6 separate regions of the Homo sapiens genome follow, and regions 1, 2, 3, 5 and 6 are each linked to region 4. Evidence: promoter capture Hi-C in 16 types of primary human blood cells and fetal thymus (Javierre and others, 2016). All regions are on one chromosome and are shown on one strand. The core of a region is centred on a gene start or on the middle of the fragment in contact, and the rest is flanking DNA. Distances in the headings are between cores, read along the strand shown. Region 1 overlaps LAMTOR3 (late endosomal/lysosomal adaptor, MAPK and MTOR activator 3). Region 2 overlaps H2AZ1-DT (H2AZ1 divergent transcript). Region 3 has its middle 9.5 kb from the start of DAPP1. Region 4 holds the start of CENPE (centromere protein E). Region 5 holds the start of TRMT10A (tRNA methyltransferase 10A). Region 6 holds the start of DNAJB14 (DnaJ heat shock protein family (Hsp40) member B14).

Evidence for each region. The method cuts DNA at HindIII sites, captures the fragments that hold promoters and counts their contacts. A CHiCAGO score of 5 or more calls a contact.
Region 1: a contact is called between a fragment that was not itself captured here and the fragment with the promoter of CENPE in region 4, in 3 of 17 cell types (fetal thymus, naive B cells and total B cells). The highest score is 15.4, in fetal thymus.
Region 2: a fragment that was not itself captured here is called in contact with the fragment with the promoter of CENPE in region 4 in 1 of 17 cell types (total CD4 T cells); the score reaches 5.2 in total CD4 T cells.
Region 3: a fragment that was not itself captured here is called in contact with the fragment with the promoter of CENPE in region 4 in 1 of 17 cell types (total B cells); the score reaches 7.4 in total B cells.
Region 5: the fragment with the promoter of TRMT10A here is called in contact with the fragment with the promoter of CENPE in region 4 in 7 of 17 cell types (fetal thymus, naive B cells, total B cells and 4 more); the score reaches 15.4 in fetal thymus.
Region 6: the fragment with the promoter of DNAJB14 here is called in contact with the fragment with the promoter of CENPE in region 4 in 7 of 17 cell types (fetal thymus, total B cells, naive B cells and 4 more); the score reaches 14.5 in fetal thymus.

What each region holds. Positions count from the first base shown.
Region 1 is chr4:99,886,901-99,891,894 of GRCh38, forward strand. LAMTOR3 (late endosomal/lysosomal adaptor, MAPK and MTOR activator 3) reads right to left here. Exons shown (of 7, transcript NM_021970.4): 4 at 396-454. Among named protein-coding and RNA genes, the nearest start is that of LAMTOR3, 5.0 kb to the right of the region's middle. The HindIII fragment of the contact is 538 bases long and covers 3,247-3,784 here.
Region 2 is chr4:99,965,225-99,969,889 of GRCh38, forward strand. All of the region lies in intron 1 of H2AZ1-DT (H2AZ1 divergent transcript), which reads left to right. Among named protein-coding and RNA genes, the nearest start is that of H2AZ1-DT, 17 kb to the left of the region's middle. The HindIII fragment of the contact is 2,031 bases long and covers 648-2,678 here.
Region 3 is chr4:99,804,899-99,809,765 of GRCh38, forward strand. No RefSeq gene overlaps it. Among named protein-coding and RNA genes, the nearest start is that of DAPP1, 9.5 kb to the right of the region's middle. The HindIII fragment of the contact is 585 bases long and covers 3,287-3,871 here.
Region 4 is chr4:103,195,273-103,199,646 of GRCh38, forward strand. CENPE (centromere protein E) reads right to left here and starts at 3,071. Exons shown (of 49, transcript NM_001813.3): 1 at 2,992-3,071; 2 at 1,487-1,578; 3 at 891-980; 4 at 648-766. The coding sequence starts at 3,047. RefSeq lists an enhancer at 2,933-3,487. The HindIII fragment of the contact is 3,749 bases long and covers 2,117-4,374 here.
Region 5 is chr4:99,562,221-99,566,652 of GRCh38, forward strand. It overlaps TRMT10A (tRNA methyltransferase 10A), which reads right to left and starts at 1,819. Exons shown (of 8, transcript NM_001134665.3): 1 at 1,693-1,819. It also overlaps a transcript of MTTP not described here. RefSeq lists enhancers at 923-2,122, 1,358-1,487, 1,838-1,897. The HindIII fragment of the contact is 8,482 bases long and covers 1-4,432 here.
Region 6 is chr4:99,944,102-99,949,110 of GRCh38, forward strand. It overlaps DNAJB14 (DnaJ heat shock protein family (Hsp40) member B14), which reads right to left and starts at 2,517. Exons shown (of 8, transcript NM_001031723.4): 1 at 2,338-2,517. The coding sequence starts at 2,470. It overlaps H2AZ1 (H2A.Z variant histone 1), which reads right to left. Exons shown (of 5, transcript NM_002106.4): 4 at 4,710-4,839; 5 at 3,987-4,422. The coding sequence ends at 4,361. RefSeq lists enhancers at 1,901-1,950, 4,828-5,009, 4,915-4,964 and a silencer at 2,121-2,780. The HindIII fragment of the contact is 11,087 bases long and covers 1-5,009 here.

The DNA of each region.
Region 1 (4,994 bases), core at 2,266-4,765, 3.3 Mb before region 4:
TAAAATGTGTGTGTGGTATGTATATATATACACACACACATATATATATAGTAGGGGTGTCTGTGTGTATATCTAGCTGAATACATGCTCACTCTCATCACTTAGATTTACTAATGGTTTACGTTACACTGTAAATGTCTTTAATGGGAAATGGGTCTGTGATAAATCCATGCTTAAACTCTAGATGTTAATATGATACATGTGATATATAATACATTGTAGATTCAAATTCAACCTTCAACATACAAAAGCAAACACTTTCCCCAATACTAAGACCATCTCCCAAATTTACTAAAATGAATTTTATGTTTGCCTGCTGTACTACTCAGATGTAAATTACACACATTTTTAGTCAAAAGCAAAGAAGACATTTGCATTTAAATGTTCAGTTTTACCTTTAATAACAGGTACTCCATCTCTATCTGACACAACAATGGCATGGAGCCCTTCAACACTAGAAAAAGAAAATAGTTAAAATATAAAAAAAGTTAAAATATAAAATTTTAAAAAGTTAAAATATAAAATATTTCATTTTCTCAAACTATGCACCTCAAAGACATAATAATTCTCATGTATTTTCTGAAAAACCACAGACCCCAAAATTCTCCCAGAAATTGAATCAATGTGTATTATAGAAATGTTTATAATATTTACAAGTTCATGCAGTTTATTAATAAGAATCTAAGACATAGATAACTCTCCATTAAAACTACTAATGAATGATCAGTCCATGGTACACAAAAGCATGAAAGATTATCAGCAGGGGCTATAGTGACAAAAAACAGCCTTTTTCCTTTTTCATTCATGCAAATATTAAGCGGCCAGTATTTGTGGCACTTAATACTTTGATACTATGAAAAACAGAAATAAGCACAATCATTGCCTTCACATGGCTTCCAATGTAAAAAGTGAATGTGTTACCAATAAAATAATCTCACAATAACAAACGTAAAACTAAAACTGGTGGCAAGTGTTGTTAAAAAGTTCATAGGGATATGAGAACCTAGAAAAGAGGAGGCTGATGCAGACAGACAGTGGGCCAGAGAAGGCTTTCCTGGAGGCAGTAATACATCAGCTGAGACGTTATGGCACTAAGTGAAAAGACGTGGAAAAACTGTTCCTGGCTGAAGAAACAGGGCAAAAGGAATGCAGGCTATGCAGTAATCCTTTCAGCCATGCTTACGTAAGAAGTAGTAAGCAGAACGGTCAAGCTATAGCTCTAAAGTTAGAAAGATCTGGGTTCCAGTCCAGGCTCTGCCACTTATTATTTATGCTATCTTGGGCTAGTTATGAAACCTTTACAAGCCTCAGATTAACAATTTGAAAATGGGAATAACTGTACTTACTTAGATACTGTGAAATTTAATAATACAAGGCATGTAAAGTGTAGGCTGGCACATAATTCAAAAATATCACTTATTAACTAATACCAGTGGTGTCAATTGTGCACACTGACAATGACATAATTTATCACTAAAGTACTAAGTTATCAGTGAGAATCCCTGGGAAATTAGCAATTAAGAAACATATGGTAGAGCACAAATATACTGTGTTAAAAAATATAAGGTGACACTCCTCGACTTTCAACATTTATGCAAAACCCTTTCATTGTTAACATAAATCTTATAGTCCTGTAACTATCTTATGGTATCTATAAACTACAACTCAGAGATATGTTCAATGTCCCTACAGCAACCCGGAATGATCTATTCTTTGTGTTAACTTTAATGTATTAACTAAGGAATAAGAAATACTTATATTAACCTAATGTTTAAATACTGACATTAAATTTTTTAAAATCCCATTGTCAAAAACTTTTAAGTCAGAAAAGTGTTATTAAATATGAATGGAAAATGTTACAAACAAAATCATTTGTCTTCCTTACATTAAAAATAAGAATAAAATAACTTTATAAATGACTTTTATACTATTTTTATCCTATTATTGGCATGATTTCCTAATCATTCAATCCTAAACTTATTTATAGATTAAAATATATCTCTAAGATTAATACATAACATAGGCCGGGCACAGTGGCTGACGCCTGTAATCCCAGCAATTTGGGAGGCCAAGGTGGGCAGATCACCTGAGGTCAGGAGTTTGAGACCAGCCTGGCCAACATGATGAAACCCCGTCTCAGCCAAAAACACAAAAATTAGCTGGGTGTGGTGGTGCTTGTCTGTAATCCCAGCTACTTGGGAGACTGAGGCATAAGAATCGATTGAACCTGGGTTGCAGTGAGCCAAGATTGCGCCACTGCACTCCCAGCCTGGGTGACAGAACGAGAGTCTGTCTCAACAACAACAACAAAAAGATTAATACATAAAATAAATATATTCTTCTAAGTTAAAAACTAGGTTATATAAAACATATACTACAGATATTTGTACATAAGCCAATTATTTTGTGCAGTTACCAAAAGCAACATCATTTGAAACAGTAAAGCATTACAAATCCAACTGTCCATCAAGAAGGACAAGGTAAGTTATGATATACACCTACAAAGGAATACTCTGGAATACTCTGCAGCCATGAGAAAGAGGAAGTTCTCTATGTACCAGGAAAGATTACTCTCAAAGTTACATTCTTAAGTGAAAAAATACACAGTTTAGAACAGTGTATAGAAGAAGCAATAAATTATGTACCAAAATATGCAGGCATATGTGTATGTTGTGTGTATAAATACGTGTATATACATGTCTGCTCATAGGTACATAAAATATCTCTGTAGGTAATGGTGGGTGCCTCTTTGAGGGGAAACTGTGCATGTGGCTGGAGAGGAAGGATGGGCAGCTTCTCACTCTATGTTCTTCAGTTAAGTCTTGAATCTGAACTCTGTGAATGTACTACTTACCCCCAAAATAAATTAAAAAGCAGGTAAAAAGAGGACCACAAAAATGTTTAGAAAAATTAGTGCCACCACAGGTAGCTTCTTTTTTTAAATTTCCATGGAAATTACTTTAAATACAACTAATGCTCCAAAGAAAATAAAAGGACTTTCTTTTTGATGGACTTCACAGAGAAATGAATCAAGAAAGTAGAAAAATTACTTACACTCTTAAGTATATAATTTTAGAAATCAGGTCACAAATATAAAAGCTGTTTTCAATTCTACATACAATGCGCAAAGAGTAATATAAATAGAATTTACTAATAATTAAAAATAACTGGCTCATTAAGAGATACTACACTTTTAGAAGAAATGAATTAAATTTTGTGAAATATTCTGAAGAAATCTAAACCTTAAGCTTACTAAAACAACCATTTTTTTCTAAAAACAAATGTTGCATTACTAATCAAAGACATCGGATTTAGTTTTATACACATAATTATGAAATATTTGGTTGTTTTAAAACATACAAAGTGGGATTATTAAAGCCTGAGACTGCTTTGGGTCACAACCAGATTTTAAATTGCAAATACAAGAACGATATTTTGCAGAGAATTCAAAAAACGCACAAAAACACACATTCCATTAGTATCCGTAGCTGGCTGACTTTGTTACTGAGAGGCACTGAGGTACAACAGTTAAAAGCATGAATCCATGGCTCTGAAGCAGGATGCCTGCATCCAAACCCATACATCTAGCAACAAATCAAAGCGTATATTCTACTATTCTTCATAAATGTTCAAAACATTATTATTTCTTCATTATTACTGTTCTGGGATGCAATAAGCCTATTTTCAATAAATGATATAATGAGTTGAACTGGCTTTTTTTCATTATTAAAAAAAAAACTGACAGTACTAATACCTTTCCTGCCATTATGAAAGATTTTCATAAAGCTTTTAACAAATATCCTTTAACTGAATTTATTTCTTGGATAAGCACAACAACCTGATATTTCCCCTTTTGTTAAAAGATAAGAGACATCTAAATTCAAAGAAGAAGCAAGCATTTACTTTCCAACTATTTTTGATCAACATTAGAACTACTCAGTAATATAATAAATACTTTTGGTATTATTCTCTAATTCCTTTACACAGACAGCTTCATCATATCCAGTGTCACACGCTATTATGATTTTGAGAGCACACTTAATAGTTAAAATGAGATCCCCATTGTCTGAAACATTTTTATTGCTTATAATCACAGATGATGTAATTAGAATCAATTATTGCTTTATTAGATCTCCAGGTGACTAATGAGTATCTTTCTGGTCGGTTTATAACTTAAGAACATTGAATGCAATTTTGCTGTTTCTTCAATAAGAGATGCTAACACTCAAAAGAGGACTGTAAATCACTAAGACTTCTAAGTGAATTAACTATGTACTATTAACTATTTCATCATATCACCAGCGTAGTGGGGTATCTCTCCGTCCCAATTTGAGCGCCCTTTCATTACGCTAAGGTAACTACAGAAAAACACAGAAAGCCCTCATTTTGCATAGTTCCAATATGCACATTTTAGTTACTATGGTTAAGTAATACCACTCCCTGCAGAAGAGCACAGGTCAAATTTTAGTTAGCATGGCATAATACCTCAATAACTACGTAAAGTATAAACTTTTCTAACTCTTTAGTCCACAAATCACTACATAAATAATTATGTAATTAACAGATGCACACTGTCATCAGTAACCAGCCACATCATTTCTTTCAAAGTATGTTGATGGTTGGTCACTGTGCATCTGTTATGCAGCTCATGCAGAGATAGCAAAGCATGTAGTTTTGTACCTCCTTGTCTCCCAATGATAAAGTATGTGACATTTAGAAAAAGAGATAATAAAAAGAGGAAACTGGCCAACAAAGACGAAATACAGCAAAGAAATGAAAAGTAATAATGCTGAAATTTCAAATAGAAATGCTGAATTTCAAATAGAAAGTAAAGAATTATAGAAGAAACAGATGACCAAGGGAATGCTGACACTATCGCTCTAGATACACAGAGAACTCAGTGAAGGCAAACTTATTGACATAAATGAGGAAAGCGGTTGTGACGAAAATTTTCCAGAGGACGTGAGGCTGGCAAAAAATATTCATATTAAAGG
Region 2 (4,665 bases), core at 413-2,912, 3.2 Mb before region 4:
TTTTTCAATAAGGCAATAGAATTCAGGGAAGGAGAAAAAAGAGGAGAAAACTGTTCTAAATTAAGAGATATTTAAAAAGAATTGTGAGATAGAACAACCCAGTAAAATGTGTGAACCTTGGTTGGAAGCTGATGTCATTAAACCTCTAATTAGTGGTAGTGGTTGTTTTTTTAAGGTTTTACATAATTGGGGAAATTTGAATACAGATTTAGAACTAGGTAATATGAAGGAATTATTGTTAATGCTGTTAGAGAAAACAATGGCATTTGTTTATGTAAGAAAATGTCCTTTGTTTTATTATTTTTAAAGAAAGCACATTAAAATATTTAAGGTTAATATAAAATGATTTCTGAAATTTGCTTTAAAATGCTCCAAAAATTTTTTTAATGCAGGAGGCATAAACAATATGGCAAAATATTTATAATTATTGAAATTAAGTACTTATTTGAAATTTTCAGTAGAGTTCAAAAAGAAAAAATTGGTAATGAAATTGCTGCAGATGCTGTCTCTGTGTAGGAAGAAAAAAATGGTAAACTTTGCTTTGTGGTCATCAGTTTGCCGTTGTTTGGGACCTTTTCATATCATAGTTTTTACCCTTAAATTAAAAAAAAAAAAAACCAACCCCAATATCCTGTTTAAACAAACCAAGCTTCGCTTCTTAGCCACTCTGGTTTCACCACATAAACGATACTTTATTGTTTGAAGTTGTGCTGAGCTGTCTTTAACAGCTAAGTTTATCTACATATATAAATATTCTGACTGTAAATTTTGTTTTGTTGGGCTATACTAAAATAACATGCAGAGAACTTGAACATGAAACACAAACGGTAAGAGGCAAAGATGCAGCAGTGGAAAAAAAGAGGAAAATTGAATTCAGAACAAACTGGATTTGACATTTATGCTTCCCAGCTAAGAGACGTTGGTCTAATCAACCTATGTGAGCATTCCACTTCTCTTGGGCAGAATGGGACTATTGTGAAGACTGCATGAGCTAAGTCATGTGCTTTTTTAACTGTAATGCATCATACCAAGATAAAATATTATTAGCATGAAGAATGAATGCTGGCAATATTTCATGACTATTTTCATTTTACAAAAGTGAAAAATTATTTACACTGATTTTTAAAAAGAATTAAAAATAATTTACAAAATTTATCCTAATAAACAGCAATAAGAAACACATTTGGTCTGCCTTTACATATTTCCATCGGTAGGAGAATCAGATCTGCTCAACAAGGATAGAGTTCCACTTTGGTTTTTGACTTTGTTCCTGCTAAGGATCATTTTACTACAGTGATATTAGGTCTTACTTAGAAAAACTATTATTCTGTCTCTTCAGGTGTAGTTAACTACACTGAAAATTTCCATTAAAAAGATACCAGAGTAAAGAAATAATTTTATAATGCAGAAAATCACCCCAGTTTTACTGTTTTATACCCTATCTTTAATATATCAAGTTTGTTTGTTTTAATTTCAGCACCTAATACAATTTCGCCTCTTCAAAAACTTACAGATAAATTGAGAACTATACTCAGAAGCCACAGGCAACATTAACTGTGACTTAGATGGTTCTGAGTAATTTATAATTCAATTTGCAGCCAATATTCAGTGTTGTTATGCACTTGAACTCAGCTTTTCTGGAAATTGTTTAAGGCACGTAAACATCCTGCGTTAATGAAAAGTTGTTCTTACAACATAATTGTGAGTCATGAAGAGAGAACTGAAGAAAACATAACCTTTTTTCCTTATCCTTTCTTTAGAAAAAGAGGCCAAATGAAAGAATATGAATATCTCTTTAAAGTAATTAATGGCTTAAGGGCTACAAAGTACTTTGAAAACAAAAGCAAAAATTTCTCCTAATAAACAGCAACAAGAAACACATTTGGTCTGGCTGTAGTATTTCTGTCAGTGGGAGAATTAGACACACAAGGATAGAGTTCCACATTGTTTTTCATTGTTGTTGTTGTTTGTTTGTTTGTTTTGAGACAGAGTTTCGATCTTCTTGTCCAGGCTGGAGTGCAGTGGCGCGATCTCGGCTCACTGCAACCTCTACCTCTCAGGTTCAAGCTATTCTCCTGCCTCAGCCTCCCAAGGAGCTGGGAATACAGGCATGCACCATCATGCTCGGCTAATATTGTATTTTTAGTAGAGATGGGGCTCTTACCATGTTGGTCAGGCTGGTCTCGAACTCCTGACCTCAAGTAATCCACCTGCCTCAGCATCCCAAAGTGTCGGGATTACAGGTGTTAGCCACTGTGCCTGGCCCACATTGGTTTTTTACTTTGTGCCTGCTAAGGATCATTTCACTACGGTGATGTTAGGTCTTATTTAGATAAAATGTTATTCTGTCTTTTCAGGTGAATGGTAGAGAAAATAGATTATATTCCTGTGGGCACTGCTAGTACTTTCAATACTTTTATAATGGGCTCATCTGTATCTCTTTACTCTCATTTTTTCATTTTTTAATGGTCTCAATCTAGATGATTCTTTTCCCATTTAAAAAGCCATTATTTATTAATTGATTGATTCTTGAAAAGGCTAAACTTGTCAATGTTTCAACATTTAAAAGGCTAAAAAAAGTGGTATAGAGTGAAAATTCTCTCTCCCACTCCTATCCTTCAGTTGCTCAGCAATGTGTTTTCTCCATAGTTTCCCTGATCACCTGCTTTTGTTTACAAAGCTTTTGTTGCTTCCTCTATCTGAAATGTGCTTCAGATAGCTGTCAATTTTTGCACTTTACTTCTTCAAAATATGGCTCAATACTCTCCTTTAGTGAACATTCCCTGAGCCACCATCTCCAAAATTGATCTCTTATTCCCCTTGATTCTGCATCATTGAATATGGTTTGTACCCTGCTTTCTTTAATATACTTTAAATTGCTAATGCTCCTAAATTACTTTCATATTTTCTGGAATGATTTTAGATTTTTGAATAGCCTACAGATTTACAGTGCCTTGAAAGCAAGAAATGACTTTTATTTTATTTTTCCTACGTAGCAGTCTGGATCTATGCAACTAGTTGGTGCCTAGTATCTTCTGTATCCTCAAAAATTATTAACTGGCATTTCTCAAAATTTGGTGCATATCAGAATCCTGGGGCCGAGAATGGAGGGGAGGTGGAAAGTGGGGAGCTTTTGAAACTCGTGAATGGTAGGATTCACCCCATACCAATTAAATCAGAGTCTCTTGGGAGTGAGATTTGAGCATAAACAGTATTTAAAACCTGCTGGATGACTTCAATGCACAGCTATGTTTTAAGAATCAGTGATCTAACCCACTCCCTGCCCTCAATTTCAGTGATGACCTCATTCCATGAGAATCTGCTCTTCCTACCAGTGTTATACAATTCTCCCTGCATCTGCACCCATCTTCTGCTTTTCCCCCACTACAGCTAAGAAAGAGTTCCTCTGCTTCCCATAGGCCTCCTTCCAGCTGCCACATTGTCTTTGCTCCCTTTCACAGAAACCTTTTCATGGGATTTTTCTTTGCAGGTGGTTGTCACTTTTTCACCTCCAAATCTCTCTTCAACCACTTATATTTGACTTTCATTCCCATCAGGCCTCCCAAATGGTTCTTGTCACTGTTAATTGCCATGTTGCCAAACCCAAGGGTCAGTTTTCTTCCTTCTTTTTACCTCTCAGCAGCATGACCACACTTTCCACCAGATACTGCCATTTCTTGACTTCCAGGATACCATATGGTTGCTTCTCTTCTCCTTTTATTGCTTTCTTTCATTTATTTTCTCTTCACTACCTGACTTCAAGATGGCACTTTCCCAGGGCTTGGTCCTAAGCCCTCCTCTTTCTCCACATATTTCCATGTACAACTTTTAAGTAGAGATGATTTCAGATAGTAGATGACTGAAAATTTTTTACCTTTATAGTTAAGTACAGTTGTCTCTGGTTATCTCTGGAGATTGGTTCTACGAACCCCGGTGGATACCAAAATCATCAGATGCTCAAGTCGCTGATATTAAATGTTGTGGTATTTGCATATAACCTATGCACATACTCCTGTGTACTTTAATCTCTAGATTACTTATAATACCTAATACAATATAAATAGTTGATACACTGTATTGTTTAGGAAATAATGACAGGAAAGACATTCAGTACAAACACAATTTGTTTTCCAAATATTTTTGATCCACTGTTGGTTGAATCCATGGATGTGGAATCCACGGATACAGAGGGTCCACTATTTATTTCACCTTGACAGGTAAGCATTAGAAAAGACTACAACCTGAAAATCAAACTCACATTAAGGTTAGAAAGTGAAGAAGAGTGAGTTCAAATAGCAAATCATATGGCAAATTTCAGAAAATCTGCTTTTTACACATCTCTTTTCTTTTCCTAAATTTCTTCTCAAGTTCACAGCTATCTTCACTCTTTCCAAAAGCCTCTATCTATGGTCAACCATTATATCTTCCCCTGGCCCCTTTATAATTTTTCCCCCAATCATACTCTCCAGCCTCTTGGTTCCATTCTCCCCCCTCTTCATTCATCTCTGGCAGAAGCACATCTTGCTGATGAGCTTCCAGATGCCCTGTATTGAAACTGCATATATTACTGAGAAGTTAGGTTTCACTTAACTGGGAAAGCTTCAAAATAGGGAACAAATACCTTGCAAGGAAGCCGTTGAAAATTTGCTGGATATAGAAGAGATA
Region 3 (4,867 bases), core at 2,329-4,828, 3.4 Mb before region 4:
TGGGAGGATGCTTGATAGTGGGAGGTTGCTTGATCCTGGGAGGTTGAGGTTGCAGTGAGCTGTGAATGTGCCACTTCACTGAGACCCTATCTCAAAAAGGCAAGGCAAGGCAAGGCAAGGTAAGCAAGGCAAGGCACTGCATCCTATTCTATATCTTGGTAGATTTACTTGAATATTCCCCAAGGCCCATCAGCTTGTCCATCCTAGGCAAAGTCATTATTTGTTCGTATAGTTGCTGGATTAATACCCTCCACCTGCTAGTGGCCGGGTCTCAGTCCTTCCCATTCTTGTGTCTAAAAGTCTCCAGGAAAAAAGGGGGGAGTCTCTCACACACAGTCGGCCTCTGCCTGCAGCTCTGCTCACCTGCTGCTCTAGCTGTTGCTTTGTTCTTGGGGCAGCCTCTGCTTCAGTTCTCTGAGGCGTTAATGCTGCTGCATCACAGTCTCCAACCACCCAAATAGTAAGAGGACACATCCCCAACCTTCATGACCCAGGGCAGTTGCATGGTAAACTGATGTCACCTAGAGTTCTTTGCCATCTGCTTAATGGTCTCCAATGCTCACCTCCCTTTCAGGTGACAGCATTTCTCTTCAAATGACCATCTTTATGCTGGACAGGAGGCCAGGGAGTGAGAAATTTGAGAGAAGAAAAAGTGCAGATGGTGGGAAGTAGTGGCCAGAAGGCAAAGCTGGTCACCAAGTAGTGAGTGCTCTGTGGCGGAATTGAAGAGATTCAGCTCAGAGTCTGCCATTGATTTATTTCTTTTTAGATTCTTTTAGAGACAGGATCTCACTCTGTCATTCAGGCTGGAGTGCAATGGTGCAACCGTAGCTCACTGCAGCCTCAAACTCCTTGGCTAACATGATCCTACTGCCTCAGCCACTGAGCAGCAGGAACTATAGGCATGTGCCACCATACCTGGCTAATTTTTTAAAGCTTTTTCTAGAGGCAGGCTGTCTTTGCTATTTTGCTCAGGCTGGTCTTGAATTCCTTGCTTCAAGCAATCCTCCCACGTTGGGCTCCCAAACTGCTAGGATTGCAGGCATAAGCCACCATGCTTGGCTATGTCTGCTATTTAATGTTAAGTTTTTATGTAAGCTGTGTTATAATGCAAACTTTCCTCCATTTCTCTAAGCAAAACTTTAGTCAAGTCTGCTATCCTTGACCGTTTGACAAGACAGCTGCACTTAGAGGCACCATGTCTACTGTTTGGTCAGGTGGTACAGAGAGAAGAGAACAACCTCACAAGGCACGCTGGCTGACTGGCTCAGTGGCTTAGATGTCAATGGAAGCAGGAAGTAAGAGGAACAGAAACTATGATATTGTAAGCCCCCAGAATTCATGGAAATCTCACTGGATTGTCAGATCACTGGATTGGCCACAGCATGTGAGATAGGGAAGCCTGGAGGGGATATTCTTTTCATTAATTAAAGGAAAGGGTTAGGGGACTTGGATTCCCTCAACCCAACAGGCTGAGGTGACTTGGATCACTTAGGAAGCAATAACACTACTGAGCATCATCATGCCCTTTCCTTCCAGGACACAAAATCTTGCTAGAGAGTAGGCAAGATTAGGTTGAGTTAAGGCCAAGAACAACCACCAAGACCTGCCTGCCCTTGGCCCTGAAGCCGTGAATCCTCACCTATAAGGATTCTTCCTCCCAGGGACTCCCTTTTTTACTCCCAGAAGTCCAGCTCCATCCCTTTCCTATTTGCCCTTGTCTGTCAGACTGGTTTGTATCCTAAGCCTGGATCAAGTTAAGTCCCCCACCATGGGACCTCTGGTCATCTGGATCATCAGTGTCATCGAGCAACCTATTACCCTAAGAAGGCCTTGTTTGCTGAGAGCACTTGGAGGATCTCCACAGGGAGCCGCCAACTCCTGATGCCAGCATAGCTGAGTCTCAGCTGAGCTGCAGCCAAGAGTTACTGAGACAAAAGAGTTTGAGGTTACTTAGTTGATACCTCCAAGCCCGAAAACCTTTCTTGGTTTTGGAAGTCCTTCTTTTTCTCCTTACACAGCCCATTGCTCGTGAGCACACACAGATGGTCCAAGGAATGACAGGCTTCTTTTGTGATGGGTGTTGACTGACACAAACGTGGATAGCTTATTAGGTCACAAGGTACCATCTTTTCTTGGCACAGGCTTATGGCACTCGTTATTGCCCCAGGAGCCCACAGACCCGTCACCACATTACTTTTGGTCTGCAGGCTCTTCCACAGACTCGGGTGCTCTTCAACCTTTGCCGAACATCAGAATCACCTGGGGCAACTGTCCAAGATGCAGGCCCCAGGGCCCTGTGCCTTGGGGATTTTGAGGCTGGTGGTGCACAGCCTGTCCTGGGAGAAGCCCTGCTGCAGCCCTTAGCTTTCAGCTTCCAGTGTGTCACCTCCATGCTCCCCACCCTCCAGGGTCTTCTGAAGCCTTTATTTTTGCTCTGATGTGGCCCCCTTCAGGGCCAGGTTTATCCTTTTTGCTTCGGGTGGATTACTGGTTCAGTCACCTATCACACCATCCTGTCAGTACTCTCTTTTATAGTTCTCCTGCTCTCTTCACATTTTTTTTTTAACCACTCATAGTTCCTCATAATTTTGCTCTTCCTCCTGCTTCCATCCCCCACCTAACCTTCTGGATAAAATTCACTTTGTGTCTGGGCACAATGACGGATGCCTGTAATCCCAGCACTTTGAGAGACTGAGGCAGGAGGATCACTTAAGGCCAGGAGTTCAACACCAACCTGGACAACACAGTGAGACCCCCATCTCAAAAAAAATCATCTCTATAATGTCTCCTTTAGATAGACAGAACAAAAACATTTACATGTTAAGAGAAACTTCTCTTTACCACCCTTAAAATATTTAAAATACCAAAGATCTCATATTTATATGATTAACAGAGAAAACTCAGACCCATGGGCCACCCAGGAACAGTGACAAAATCTACTTCAAAGTTGTTGCTGTGGCTGAGTCACTGTCTCTGTAATCGGGGAGCTGTTCCCAAGCTGCCTTCACTGTAACGCTGAGAACCCTGAAGAATTTTCACTATTTCCAGTCACCGTTACTGTGACAGGGCTCTACGTTAGCAGTTTTAGAGTCACCTACATTCCTTATTTTAAATGAAAATTGAAATGCTTTGAAGATTTATATTTACCAAATGAGCTGAGGAAAAAGTAAGTGCTTAAAATATATTGCAATTGCAGAAATGAAAATCATTTTTAGGTATAAAATTGAATTTTTAGATTTCAATCACTTCCTACTCATTTAAATTCTTTCAGTAAAGGTCTCAAAGCTTTAAAGGGAAAAGAGAGCAGAACTAAGAATTGAACCATTTAAAACTTGGTGAGACAGGTAATAAATTATACCTGAATCATTTAATGGTTTAGTAGTCTGGCGTTTAAGGAATCTTCTACAAATGTGGTGTTGGGTAGTATCACCTGAATTCAGCTACTTTAATAAAGAACTATACTTTCATAGAGAGGAAGGAAAAAGCGATGGATCTAATCTTGACTTCAGGTAAAACAGCTCCCCCGCGCCCACCAACGCGGTATTACTGCCACCTAGTGATAGCATATCCTCATCACAGAGGTCCTGCCTGTGGAAGTGGAGGGGAAGAGGTGTAGTAAGCACAGCCAGTAGGGCGAATCCACAAATTAAATACACCCGGGGGTTGGGGGTGGCGAGGGGAGCGCTAGAGTAAGGCTATATTTTCTATAATGTCCATTCTCATTGCTTCCAGGGCTATTTTAAGAAATATTTATTTTGATGGGGTTTCAAAGTAAGTCATATGAGGACCTGTAAGCCACAGTTTTTACTCCCGCGGAGTTTGTTTTACGCAGGCTTCAAATGGACAAATAACATACATCTGAGGTTCAAGCTTTCTATTAATTTAATGCTGGCCTGGAAAACATTTTGTGATTTAAAAGAAAGCACCAAAGTTAGCTGTATTATTACTGGACTCAGCAAGGAAAGAATTGGGCTCAGTCAGAAGTGCCAGAATCCCTGTAACTAGGGGTGAAATCTCAGGCAAGTATCTTAATAGTTTCCAACCCCACTTGCCCAACCTGTTAAATAGGGGAACTGAAGTAGGTTCCCTCTAAGATGCTCTCCATGAAAAGCTCTAAGACTCCTCTTATTCATTTCTGAAGTCCTACCCCAAGGTAGACCAAACGTTCTGACATTTTGGCTGAGCTGCTCCATTCACACACATTATCATGAACGATTTCAAATTTTACCCATTTTCAAAAGCTGAATCTACCCTGGTGCTTCGTGGAAGCTAAGAATCTGGGAGATATCTCAGCTGGCCAGTTGGTCAAATTATCTTTGTTATTTGCCATTAGCTCCCGTTAGTTAACACAGCAATCTTTTCAGATGAAGTGTGGACAAGAAGACAAAAAGTATTTGGATAGGGCCCACAGGATCCAAAAGTGCGTAACCTTGTTTAATTTCATTTGGTTGAGTTAGCAGCTACTTTTGCAGACTTAAATGCAAAAATGCTGGTGTGTTTGAAGTTTCATTTTTGTCCAGGCTTTCATTACTCAGAAATCAGTGCTGACACAATTAAGCATGACCTTTCCATGCAGATGGTGCCTTGCTTCACCAGCACAAACAGCATCTGCCACACTCACCCACAAGTGCACATGTTTGCATATTTTTAAGACACTGCATCTAAAAATGGTAAAGTAAGTGCTGAAGTAAAGCCTTTGCGGAAGGGAGCATAATATCACTTAATCTGTTTGCATTACCTGTTAAGAAAGCCAGAGTGAAGTTCTAGGAAATTAGGAGACATGCAAAACACAGCACTCTTCTTAAACCACACATGTGCTCTCTTAACATTATTGGAATAATGTATTAACACTGCTCTATCTGAA
Region 4 (4,374 bases), core at 1,821-4,320:
CCAATTGTGAAAACCTAATGCTAAATGCTCATGTGCTTAAAGAGGTAAAATGTATGTAAAACAAACTAAGAAACCCCTTGGTTCTACTGTTGACAAAATAATGAACACAAAAATATAAAAGCATCGTTACAGAAATAATGAAAAGTGAAGTACCATAAAGCTGGGAGAACACCAACTCTAGGCTCAAACTCTAGGCTCAAAATAAAACCCTCTCAAAAGATGTTCTTATTTTAATAAAAATGCTAATTTGAAACCAACTAACTCGGTTGCCTATTCTGGCTTTCTGCTTCCCTTCTTTTTTTACCTACATCCACTTTCTACTGTTCCTTTATAATCACTGATAGTTAAATGGTTAGGTGGAGCTAACCATTCTGATAACATTTTCTTGTTCCTTAATGCCTACTTTTTGTTGAGAGTATTATTGTTGCAGAATTCAAGAGAAAGAATAAAAGAACTTTAAGCTTTATAAAGTAAGTTGTGGAGATAAAAGTGAATCTATGCTATGCCTTTCTTCTTTCCCCATGGATAATCAAACAATAACTGTAAATCTACTTCCTTTCATCTTTACAAGAGAAATACACTAAGACTGGTACCCAGTTTTTACTAGTTTTACCTGTACGTACTAGAAATCCAGTTAAGTTACTTACCTTCTTAATTTTTTGGAAAATGTCATGAATTGCCCTGGGTATAACTCCCAAATGATCTTCTGAACCCATCATGGTATATGTTTTTCCTGAAGCAGTCTGTCCATAGGCAAATATAGTACCTGCAAAAAACAAAACACACATACGCAAAGATTAAAAACAAACCTATAATGGGTAAAACTATGCATGCTTGTTGCACAGACGCCCAAGACTAAAATGTTTCTGCAGCATTGAGTGAATACAAACCATTGTAGCCTTGTATGGCAGAATCGATGATTGGTGCTGCTATTTCTTCATACACATTTTTGGTAGTTTCATTACCATGAAAGACACGATCTAAACAACAACAACAACAACAACAACACAGAAGTTAAATCAAATGAGTCCACTGTGTTTTCATTCCAAATTAGTAATTATTCCCAAAAGTAAAACTGTCAGAATGTAGGATGATCAACTATTTAAGACACAGTATTTTTTTCAACTTTTTGGTTCTCTGAAAATACCCTTCCCTAAGGTAAAATGAGTTCATTTTCACACACAAAAAATACACTACAAGTCAACTTTTCTATGTTCTTTCAAGAGGCAATAAGGTATAGTGTTTGCACATGGGGGTCTGGAATCTACCTAGATGCAAATTAGATAACTGTGATTATAACTGTTTTAAATGCCAATTGGTTACCTTACTTAAATACATGATGGATAAACAATTTTGTTTCCAGTGAAGCAGTTTATAGAAGGCTTAGTCTAATCTTTAGTGACAAATCTAATATTATTGATAAGCCTTTTGTACTTTTAATAGCAAAAGGATAACAAGGTAACTTTTGATGCTATTATAAGCTTACCAAAATTGAAGGATTTACTTCCATCAACTTGATAAATGACATTATTGTCAGTTTTCCAGTAAACTTGGGCAGTTTCTCCAAGTGATTCTTCTCTAAAAGAATAAAAACACCGCATTTTAACCAGTCATAAAAGTCATGTCATAGGAGGAATAATTGAAAAGATTTCACCTGCTAAAGAATATTTTGAAAGATAGTAACATAAGAGAATGACAGAAAGTCCATCTTTGAGGATTCAACTCTTAAATGGAGCTTCAGTGACCTTCTGCCGCCTCAAAAGTGTTTTCTTGTGAAGGCTTTCATTCTCACCCTCTCCCCCAGTACTGGTAAACAAAGGGATGGATTCAAAATGCAACTCTGATTATGTCTGTCTTGCTTAAAATTCTTAAAACCTTTTGGAAACTTATGAAATCCTCAGCAGGGCACGAGTCCTAGATCATGTCATTTCTCTCTTCCATTTTCCTCTGAATTCCTAGATACATCCTAAGCTCTACCTGAAGGTCTTCCCCAAATGACAGATGTAACCTCTCTGTGCCTGGAATACTCTGACTTCCCTTTCCATTAAGTAACATAGGGATTATTTCACTCATGAAAAGCGTCAAGACTTTTCTGACACCAGTTCACCCCACGGGAAGCTTTCGTCTCTGATGGGCTAATAACTCCTCTAGCAAACATTCTCTACCTGCCCATCATAACACTTGTCAAAAGGTATCCTAATGGTTTCTTTATGTAGCCGTTTAAGGCATTAGATAATGAGCTCCTCAAAAATAGGAAATTCCTGATCTTGGTATTTGCATTTATTAAACCCCGTGTTCAATAAAAATTTCTCACACACACAAAGTGTTAGCATTTCGGGTCGAGGGCCAGAAGCTAGTGAAGCAAACCGATTTCATTTATTCCTCTTCCTGCTTTTTCTCCCTAGCACTTATTACCTACATATCACCACTTAACATCCTACATTTTCAACTTTACTTTCTGTCTCGTCCCATTAGAATGGAAGAGCCACTGGGCAATGACGGGAGTGTCTGTGTTGTACAAAGTCACTAAAAAAAAATTGATAAATATTTGTAGAATGATCTTGAGTGACGATTGAATGTAATGTGACAAGACAGACTAGCCCTTGTCTTCAGAGGGTCTGGAGACAGCAGTTAGGTGTAAAATGACTAACTGTGATGAGGGCCAGGAAGGCACGGTCCCATACGACTTCTCTAGGCGGGGAATGGGGCAGGGAGGAGCAGATGCCGCAAGGCAGAGCAGCACAGAAGGGAAGGTCTGTATGTCAGCGAGACTGAGTTAAATTTAAGTGAATCTCGCAGCTGGAAAGTATCTTCTAGATCTCCGATCCTCCCCTGTCACTTTACAGACCCTGAAACGATGGCCAGCAGCCGAGTCACTAGACAGCAGAGCCGGGAAGCAGCGGCTCCTGGAAACATCGTAGGCCTCGCCCCTCCGGCTCAGGGCGGCGCCGCAGGCCCAGCGGGCACCGGGCCGTGGTGTGGCCCCCCTACCTGCTGTTCAGCGGCCGCACTCGCACGCAGACGGCCACGGCTCCTTCCTCCGCCATCCTATCAGGCTGAACTGGTCCCAGGAAAATGGCCAGGACCCTCCGCGGCCGGCACTTCAGGGCTCACAGGCCGCCCCGCCTTTAAATTTAAAATTTCCCAAACGCCGCATCTGATTGAGCCGTGGCCTCGTGACGTCATGGGCCATTCCACGTGCGGAGCAGCGCGGGGGACGCAAGGCGGGCGGCGTGACCACTGCTAAACAGGAGAGGGGATTTAAAGGGCCCAGCAGAGAGTCGGAGGAGAGGGCCGAAGGGAGGGGCTCCCAGGAGTGGGCAGAGAGTGGTGGTCCTGGAATACCAGAATACTATTATCTGCCAAAAGCTAGCGAACGTCATCCTCCACCCCATCCTTAAAAAGTTTGGAACCTGTAGACGAAACTAGGTAGAGATACATGTATTTTTCACTACCCAAACAGAATTGCCGTCTTTTAAAGAAACTGCACCAACAGTTTAAAATAAACTTTCAACAGCAAGAGTTGAAATTCGCTGTCCAGTCCAGAAACGTGACAAGCCTGTTGTGCGCCTTAGAAAATCTGAGTTTAGGCTTTTCTCCTGTTTCTCTCTCTCTGTAACTCGTTTCCATTAGCTGTGGCTTCCTCAGAGGTTGAATTAGGGAAAATAAATACCGAGGACTGAAAAACTCATTGAGTAATGGGTTGATACTTTTTTTTTCTTCTTTTTTTTGGAAACGGAGTCTCGCTCTGTCACCCCAGGCTGGAGTGCAGTGGTGCTTATCTCTGCTCATTGCAGCCTCCACCTCCTGCATTCAAGTGATTCTCCTGCCTCAGCCTCCCCAGTAGCTGGGATTACAAGGTGCCCGCCACCACGCCCAGGTAATTTTTGTATTTTTAGTAGAGACGGGGCTTCGCCATGTTGGCAAGGCTGGTCTCAAAGTCCTGACCTCAGGTGATCCACTTGCCTCGGTCTCCAAAAGTGCTGGGATTAAAGGCGTGAGCCACCGCTCCTGGCCTGGTTTGTTACTTTTATTAACTAAGAGGGAAAGCTATTCTAAATACAGTGATTTTTTCCCAAAAATAATGCTTATTTTCCCTTTCTTCTCTCTCTCTCTTTTTTTTTTTTTTTTTTTTTTAAATAAACATGAGTTCTTGCTTTGTCACCTAGGCTAGAGTGCAGTAGGCTGAACACAGCTCACTGCAGGCTCAACTCCTGGCCTCAGCCCAAGTGGGGTTCCCACCTTAACCTCCTGAGTAGCTTGGATTACAGGCACATCACAAGCCCAGATAATTTTTAAATTTTTTTGTAGAGACGGGGTGGTGGGGGGATTAGGGTAGGGAGTGGGGTCTCACAGTGTTGCCTAGGCAGGTCT
Region 5 (4,432 bases), core at 569-3,068, 3.6 Mb before region 4:
GTGTGTGAAATTTTACTCCTGCATAAAATTTTAAAAATTTGTGGGGTTCATTCGCAGACATAGGTTATTAAGTGGGCTTACAAACTATCTCACTTTGTAAGGCAAGGACACATCCTACATCAATGAGCACCAAAAGAAAAAAAAAAGTTTTTTAAAACTGCATTAAGTTATGGATTGGGATAAAATAAATAATCGTCGTTAATTTATGACAGTCTCCTTTTCAGAAAAATCTCAACGAATGTGGGAATAATGCAGATTGGAATTAATGACTTGACAGCGATAGCAAAGGAATGCCTTTTTTTTTTTTTTTTTTTTTTTTTTTTGAGAGGGAGTCTTGCTAGGTCGCCCAGGCTGGAGTGCAGTGGCGCAATCTCGGCTCACTGCAACCTCTGCCTCCCGGGTTCAAGCGATTCTCCTGCCTCAGCCTCCCGAGTAGCTGGGACTACAGGTGCGCGCTACCACGCCCAGCTAATTTTTGTTATTTTTAGTAGAGACGGGGTTTCACCACGTTGGCCTGGATGGTCTCCATCTCTTGACCTCGTGATCCACCCGCCTCGGCTTCCCAAAGTGCTGGGATTACAGGCATGAGCCACTGCGCCCGGCCTTTCTTGTTTGTTTGAGACGGAGTTTCGCTCTTGTTGCCCAGGCTGGAGTGCAATGGCGCAATCTCGGCTGATTGCAACCTCCGCCTTCTGGGTTCAAGTAGTTCTCCTGCCTCAGCCCCCCCAGTAGCTGGGATTACTGGCATGCGCCACCACGCCCGGCTAATTTTGTATTTTCAGTAGAGACGGGGTTTCACCATGTTGGTCAGGCTGGTCCCGAACTCCTGACCTCAGGTGATCCACCCGCCTTGCCCTCCCGAAGTGCGGGGATTACAGACGTGAGTCACCGCGCCCGGCCAGGAATGCCCTTTTAAAAGACATGCGGACTAAACGTGGAGGAGCGAAAAGCCCTTTGTTCACTTCAGTTGTCAAGCCTTTTGGGCAGAGGGTTGGGAATGGAAGGGGCAGATGAAATTCTTTCAGAAAGTGACAAGTAATGTGTTGCCATCCTCTTCATATCTGTAGAAAAATTCCCAAATTTAAAGTATTTCAGTGAAATCAAGTAACACTTCGATCTTTATAAAACTGTCCTCAGCTCACAGCACCTGCAGCAACTTCCCCTCGGGCTCTCTACATTTCAGAGAGTTCAGCGACGTCAGCCCTTTGCAGGAAAAATGAGGTAAGGCAGCTTTAAAGAGGTAAAGCCCACGGTCTCTAGCCACGAAGTGGCAGGGCCATAACACGCTTTCCGGCCCTTTAGAGTACAGATTTCCCACTGATTCTTTGCAAACTCACTTTTCACATACTACGGGCCGATGGCAACCCCAAAACACACGCCGACGGAAAGCGCCCCACCACGGGGCGGAGCCTCGCCCACTATCCCTTCTAGGCTCCCAGCCAGCAAACGCATTTCAGAGACGGGATTAAGCTGTCTCTGGCGAACCAGGGAGCAGCTGGGTAGGCCGCGGGGGGCGCCTGTCATCGACGTCATTTCCTTCAGCAAGAGCGCCGCAGGAAACCACTTCCACACCACTGCTCCCCTCTCCCCCGGAAGCCCTTGTTGCTAGTAGGGGGCTGCATGGCACGCGCCCCTTTGCGTCCAGAGAATACCATAGTGCGGGGGAGCGCCAACCAGTGCCAGGACACTTACCGAGCTGAAGAGTTGACAGGGAAGTGAAATCTCAGAAAGAAAGCCTTTCTGGGTTGGCCTGGTTACGGCTCACGCTTCCTTCCACAGAAACTTCAATTCCCAGAGGCAGGGGCGGTAGTTACGCAGTGGAGGCTACGGCGGTTGCGTCTTACGTCATCGAACTGCGGCCATTTCGAACCCGCAATGGAAGAAAGGGGAGGGGTTTATGCGGGGCGGGGTCTGGAGTTAGTGTTTTGGGAGTGGGAGGTAGTTACAGTGATGTCTGTTTTTTCCCGTTCAAGAATTAAGTGTGTACCTGCAGACGTGTATTCATTCATATATTCTTGTGAGTATTGGATGAAGGAATTAAGATAGTCCCACTGTTAAAAATGCAAAACAACGAAGAAAGGCTCCTAATTTTTCTGTGTTGAAAATGAGAGAAAAACATCTCTTGCCTATATTATTTTTAATTTATACAGAAAATTACCATATCACATGATTTTACATAACTCAAGTGGAAAATTAAATTCAAAAAGTGAGTCAGATTCACAATAAAATGCATTTAAATTTAGAATCTGTAAGGCTTTTTTATGGCTGAAGTAAAACAGCCATAGCTTTACTCTTTATTCATTCCTTGAGCTATTTTTCCTATGCTGTTTTGCAAAACATCAGATGACATTTCATTGTTTATAATACTTGACCTTATATAATCTTTTGCTATATATAGATCATGTCAACTGAGAGAGAAATGAAATACAACCCCGTAGATTGTCATTTTCTATTTAGTTTTTTTCTCCTCTACTTCTAATAGGTGATTATTGCAGAATTTGAAGGTAAGAATGAGGTTTGCATCTTGAATAGAAGACTGGCTTCTCATATAGAAAGAATTTTGAAGTAAATTATCCTTGAAGATATTTGAACATGTTTAAAGGCTTCAGTGAATAGAAAATTAAATCCAGAATTTGAGATTCTCTAAAAGAGCCGAAATTTCTTTGACTTTAGTTACAAAACTAAAGTCACTCTTGCCATAAGCCCTTAAATTTTACTTGAAACACTGTATCAGCTATAACACTGTTGTGAGTCCCTCTTCTGTTTCTTCCTCATCTCAAACCTAAAAGATCTTTGTTAACTGAGCACTGGCAAAAAAGTCTGGATCCACTTCTGATCTGTTAGTAGGGCATCTTTTTTCAGCTGCCTCCATATGAGGGCAAAGAGTAGCTGAGGGAGGATTAGTAATTGGATATGTAGCCCTTCACATGTAGGTCATTAAATTCAGGCTGGCAAAGTGATGTGCCAAATCTTTCCACAGCTGTTCAGTTGCTCCTATGGGATCTGTTTTATAAATAATTATACAGTTTTTTCAGAGTTAATACCTGGCCTCCTTAGATATTTTAAACAAAGTTTTAAAGCAAAAAAAACCACTTCATATTCTAATAATGAAGTCAATAAATTTTCTTTTGACATAGACATTTAACTTTGTAGTCATTTGGTGCAAAATTTAAAATGATTCTATTATTAATCCAAAGTAAGCACCAAAAGAGCACCAGCAAAAGTCAATTTAACAAAAAATTGAAACATATAGAAAGTTTAAGACGGTGAAATCATGTGAAACAATATTTTCATTGATTTGTAAAATTTATGTATTTATTTATTTGACACATGTATCGAGTTCTATGCGTTTTGTCTTAGTATTGGTGATACAGAAATGACGAAATCATGCTCTCTGTGCTTAAGGAATCCTTAATCTAATAGGGGAGCCAGCAGTAAATAAATACCATACAACATGTACTTGAGATGCTTGTACTTTGAAAGAAGCAACTAAATGCTCCTTGAGGCAGAGGACATAGTTTTGGAGATTAAATAATTTTGTTTCATCTTGGAAAGTAAGTAGGAGTTGTACAGGTGTCAGAAAAGTGAAGAAGTTTAAGATATTGGGAACAGTGAAAGCAAAGACCTAAGCGTGTCATAGTTTTGCACATGACTGAAAAGCTGTGGATAGAATGAGGAAGAAGGAGGAGATAATAACCCTAAGGGCTTCTCTAACTTGGACAACTGTAGGAATGCAGTAACATTAACCGGGTCATTTAGGGAATACTGGAAGAAAAATAGGTTTTGAGGCCGGGCGTGGTGGCTCACGCCTGTAATCCCAGCACTTTGGGAGGCCTAGGCGGGCGGATCACGAGGTCAGGAGATCAAGACCACCCTGGCTAAAACAGTGAAACCCCGTCTCTGCTGAAAATACAAAAACTTAGCCGGGCGTGGTGGCGGGCGCCTGTAGTCCCGTCTACTCCGGAGGCTGAGGCAGGAGAATGGCGTGAACCCGGGAGGCGGAGCTTGCGGTGAGGCGAGATCCTGCCACTGCACTCCAGCCTGGGTGACAGAGTGATACTCCGTCTCAAAAAAAAGAAAAAAAAAAAAAAAAAGAAAAATAGGTTTTGAAAAAATAGTTTTGTTTTAAAATATGTGCATTCTGGGGAGTCTGCAGGACATCTGAGTAGAAACAGATTTTAAAAAGAATGAGCACATACTTGTAGTTTAAGCTAATATAAGAGGTTGGACTCAAAGAGATACTACTCCATGGGTTACAAATGCATAGTATCTATGGGGACTGGAAGGTAGCAAATGAGAGAAGCGTCTAGAAGGAAAGTATCACAAACCTGAGAGTGCAATTCCTCTTTAATCAGGATAAAAGTTCCAGGAGAGAATATGGGCTTAATGGCACCAGATCTCATTTTTTTAAGAACAGCCATAAATATGAAAT
Region 6 (5,009 bases), core at 1,267-3,766, 3.3 Mb before region 4:
AAATGGGATATTATAAAACTAGCCAATAAGCATATGAAAAGATGCTCAACATCACTAATCATCAGAGAAATGCAAATCAAAGCCACAATGAGATATCACCTCCCACTCAAGGATGGGTACTATCAAAACCAACAAAAACAGAAAATAGGTGTTGGCAAGGATGGTGAGAAACTGAAACCCTATGTACTGTTCGTGGGAAAGTAAAATGGTGCAGGCGCTACAGAAACTGTATTGTGGTTCCTCAAAAATTAAAAATAGAATTACTGTATGATCCTACAATCCCACTTCTTGGTATCCAAAATAATTGAAAGCAGGCTCTTTGCATATCCTTGTTCATAGCAGCATTATTCATAATAGCCAAGAGGTGAAAGGAACCCAAATGTCCATAGACAGATGAATGGATTAACAAAATGTGGTGTATATATACAATGGAATATTATTCAGTTTTTTTACTGTAGCTTTTTTTTGGTCTTTTTTTTTTTGTTTTTTTGAGATGGAGTCTCGCTGTGTCGCCCAGGCTGGAGTGCAGTGTTGCCATCTCGACTCACTGTAACCTCCATCTCCCGAGTTCAAGCGATTCTCCTGCCTCAGCATCCCCTAGTAGCTGGGATTACAGGCATGCACCACCACGCCTGGCTAATTTTTTTGTATTTTTAGTAGAGATGGCGTTTCATCATGTTGGCCAGGCTGGTCTCGAACTCCTCACCTCAAATGATCCGCCCGCCTCGGCCTCCCAAAGTGCTGGGATAACAGGCGTGAGCCACCGCGCCCAGCCTAATCAGTATTTTTTTAAAGAGGAATTCTTCACGTTACAACATAAATGAAACTTGGGAACATTATGCTAAGTGAAGTAAGACAGTCACAAAAAGATACTGCATGAATCTACCTATCTGAGGTAACTAAAGTAGTTAAATTCACAGAAACACAAAGTAGAATGGTAGTTGCCAGGGTCTTAGGAGACGGGGCGGTAGGGAGCTGTCTGATTAGTACACAGTTGTGTTGTAAGATGAAAAAGTTCTGAAGAGTCCTTGCACAACAATGTCAATATACTTCACTAATGGACTGCACACTTAAAAATAGTTAAGACCGTAAATTTGGCAGGTTTTTAAACCACAACTTAAAAAATTATTAACTCTTTTCTTTCATTTTATTTTCCTGTCCTCATGGGTATAGTGTTAGAAGGCAATGTAATGGAAAGGATAGAGAGAAAAGCAAAGAGCACAGGGCTTCAACGACGTAGAGAAAAAAATTTAAGAGACAACAAAACAAGTGGCCCCATATTTTCATTAATAATTTTCTACAATTAATTGAATCTATCGATAACTTTCTTCTTAACCTGGAAATACTAATGGCAAGGCAACAGTGTAGCGGTTAAAGGCCTTTTCGAGTCTGAAAGTTCAGCTACTATTCTGACTTTGCTACTAATTGTTGTGTGACCTTGGGTAAGATACTTTCATTCATTCGCTAATTCATTCATTAATTATCAGAAAGTCTGTTTCCACGTGGGTAAACCTGGTCAAATGAATCCTGCACCTCTACACAGAATTGTTCTGAGGAATAAATGAAATAATCCATGCAAAATGTTGGGCACAACTATTGGCACTTTGTGCTCAATAAATGTTGGCTATTATTACTCCGAAGCCTATCGAGTAGGAAAATAAATAAGCTGACTTCAACTAAAGGAAACCCAGTACCATATTCCTCAGAGATTTGGTTCGTCGATAATCATGGTGTTATCAAATCAGATACTCTTCAGCAATCATTACTGACTCTTGACCATTCTTGCCGAAAGTGTGCTCTTCTCTTTTAAAGGAACTCTCTCCCAGGGAAAAGCAATGTCATCTCAGGTATTCGATGTTTGCTTTGGGAACAGTTTTCTACAGATCTCAGAAACATGGAATCTGAGATTAGCCACTAGAGTACACCATTCCTCTCACTTCGATAGGGGCCTAGGCCTTATGTAGGACTGAGAATGGGGAGGGAGGGGGCCACATAAACAACACAGATACAAATAAAGCCTCACTGTGGTAAGACGGGACCAGACAAGTCTCCTCCAGGGAGAATGAAACCCGGACATTTAGGACAGCGGAACGCGGAGCCGGCGGGCAGGCGGGTGCAGAGGAACCTCGCGCAGCATTCCCCGAGCCCCAGCCCGGAGCCGGGGCTGGGGCCAGGGCGGGGGTGTGTCGGGATGCTCCCCACCGGGCCTGGGGCTGGGGCTGGCTCAGACAGGCCGGGGGCCCCGCAGGCCTCCAGGAGGGGCCGAGGTGGGGGCAGGGGCGGGCTACGCGGTGGTCTGGGGATTGGGCAGGAAGAGAAGGGACGCTGAGGTCTCACCGCGGGCCGAGGGCAGTGGGTAGAGCTTCTCGGCCTTCTGCAGGAAGCGCTGGGCCTTCTCGCGGTTGCCGGCGTTCAGGGCCTCCCGGGCGATCTCGACACATTTCTCAGCCTCATCCCTGTTCCCCTCCATAGCTTGCTCCTTCTTCCGTTTCCTCCGGCAGCGCAGCTAAGAAGGGCGGAAGCCGCCGCCGCGGAGGAGGCGAGGCGGGACCGGCTGGGGGCGTGCGGCGGCAGCGGGGAGGAGCGCAGGGGACCGCGGCAGCGGCTGCGACGGCCCGGGCGGACGGGCGGGCCTCGCAGCTCCGCCTCCTCACGGCGGCCTCCCCGCCCCCCGCGGGCCCCTAGGGCGCGATCCGCATCCGTCCCGGCCCAGGACCAACCTCCTGGGCCGGGGCGTCCGAGCTGACTCGGTGGTCCGCGCACGGCGCCAGCAGGCTCGAAGCGGACCTGCCCGGGAGGCGGACGATAGCAGCCGGGCTGCCCATCGCGGGGAGGGGTTCCGCCCGGGACCCGATTGCCGGCATTGGTAGCGCCGTGCCCTGTGACCTCCAGGCGAGGCCCTCGCAGCTCAGGCCAGGAGGACAGGGTCCGGGAAGGGGACACTCGTTTTCAGTAAAATTGCCAGGACTTGGAGGTTCCGCCTCTGGGCCCCTCAAGCGAGGGAGGATGCGGTCAGGTGAGGACCAAGGTGTCAGTCCAGTCTCAGCACTTCCGGGACACGTTAGAGCGTCGTTTGAACCTAATCTTAGGGCTTGTATGGCAGCCTTATTTCAGCTACATTTTTTCTGACCCGGATGTCTGGCTATCCAAAGTACAAAGCAGTTTAATTTGTAGCTTGCAACGAGTGGTGCAGATCGACCTTAATCCTGTGTAGCCAAAACAAGGCAGGAATCAGCCCCTCAGGGGCTGCCCTAACGAAAGCAAACTTTTGATTTCACCTTTTCCGTCCCATTTGGATAACATTACCACTTGGAAGTACCGTGTCTTGTTAGTCTTCGCGGTGGGGGTGGGGGGAATGTTTGCTATGTGCAAATTTTTTAAAAAAAAACATGACAAACTGTCAAAATGACCTGCTCAACCCAACCACAAGGTAACAATTTTTACATAATGCTGTGAGCCAAGCTGTTAATTCTGCTAACTACCATAACTCGGTACTTTCAAATAAGAAACCCTGCTTCTCTTCGATAAAATGGAGATAGTATATCCCCAATGATGTTACTGAGTACTTAACAACTTCAGACTTCAAAGCAGGGCCTGGCACGTAGCACTATTATCTTTAAAGTTTAAATTCGGAGTTCATTCTGTGGATATACAGGACATTCCTACCTATTCTCTCCCTCCCCAAGTCCACCATGCTAACAGCATACTAGTGCAGTGCTGTCACACAGCAAGCGAAGCCAATGTACAAACTGAAATGGTCACACTTAGCCTAAGAAACTGACAATCCCACTCCAGCTCCTGCCAACTTTTTAAATTAAAACTTTAGTAGCTCATATAACATTAAAAAAATATACTTGGGCTATCTCACTTTGTTGATCTACAGATTTGACAGTTCAGTCACAAAGAAATGTGCTTAGTTATTGCTGCTAGATGAGATACTCAAAACAAGTTCCTATTACAACCAAGCAAATTTAATACACAACTAGTTTGGGATATGACCTTTATTGAACTTATCCACCAGAGTGGAAATAATGTCTGTACAAAACCAAATGTTTGTTACTATAACTTCTGCATCACAATTAAAATCCAAACAGTTTTTTAAAAACAGTCAACTCAATCAAAACCCACTACTTCAGAATCAATAGCTTCTTTGAAGCCACAGTAACACTTAAATATGGTTAAGACTCGAATGCAGAAATTTGGTTGGTTGGAAAGCTAATTAAACTTCCAACTTGCTCAAATAGAATTACAAAAAGGCAAAATTGTGTTTTTCACAGAGATACAGTCCACTGGAATCACCAACACTGGACAGCTGTTAGAGTATTTAGAGTCCTGAGATAACAAGGAATCCAGGCATCCTTTAGACAGTCTTCTGTTGTCCTTTCTTCCCAATCAGAGATTTGTGGATGTGTGGAATGACACCTAGGAGAGTGACAGGAATTAATTCTACTTAAGATTTTTTAAAAAATCACAGTATTTGAAACCAAGAAAGTGTATACTGTTCAACTTGAAAGGTATCTTTAAAAACATGCAGCTCAAGTATGAAGTAAAAATTCATTGAGTTATACATATAAATCAAATTTCATGATACAACCATACTTCCATCATTGAAAATATACTTAAATTTCCTCTCCTGGAAAAACTAATTAAAAGCAGCAAAAAATTCCTTCCTCTGAAGAAATTTTTTAAAATGTTAGAAGTTAACATACCACCACCAGCAATTGTAGCCTTGATGAGAGAATCCAATTCTTCATCTCCACGAATAGCAAGTTGCAAGTGACGAGGGGTAATACGCTTTACCTTTAAGTCTTTTGATGCATTTCCTGCCAGTTCAAGTACCTAAAAGGCAGAATCTGTCAGTTGCCTTCCAACTTTCCTTTGGCCAAGATTCAGAGAACAGAATAAAACCCTCACAAACGCAGATCTACCAACTGGAATCGTTCCTCACTATCTGACTGGCAAGATATACAGGGGGCACGCAATTTTAATTCCAAGAGCAGAGAACTCAA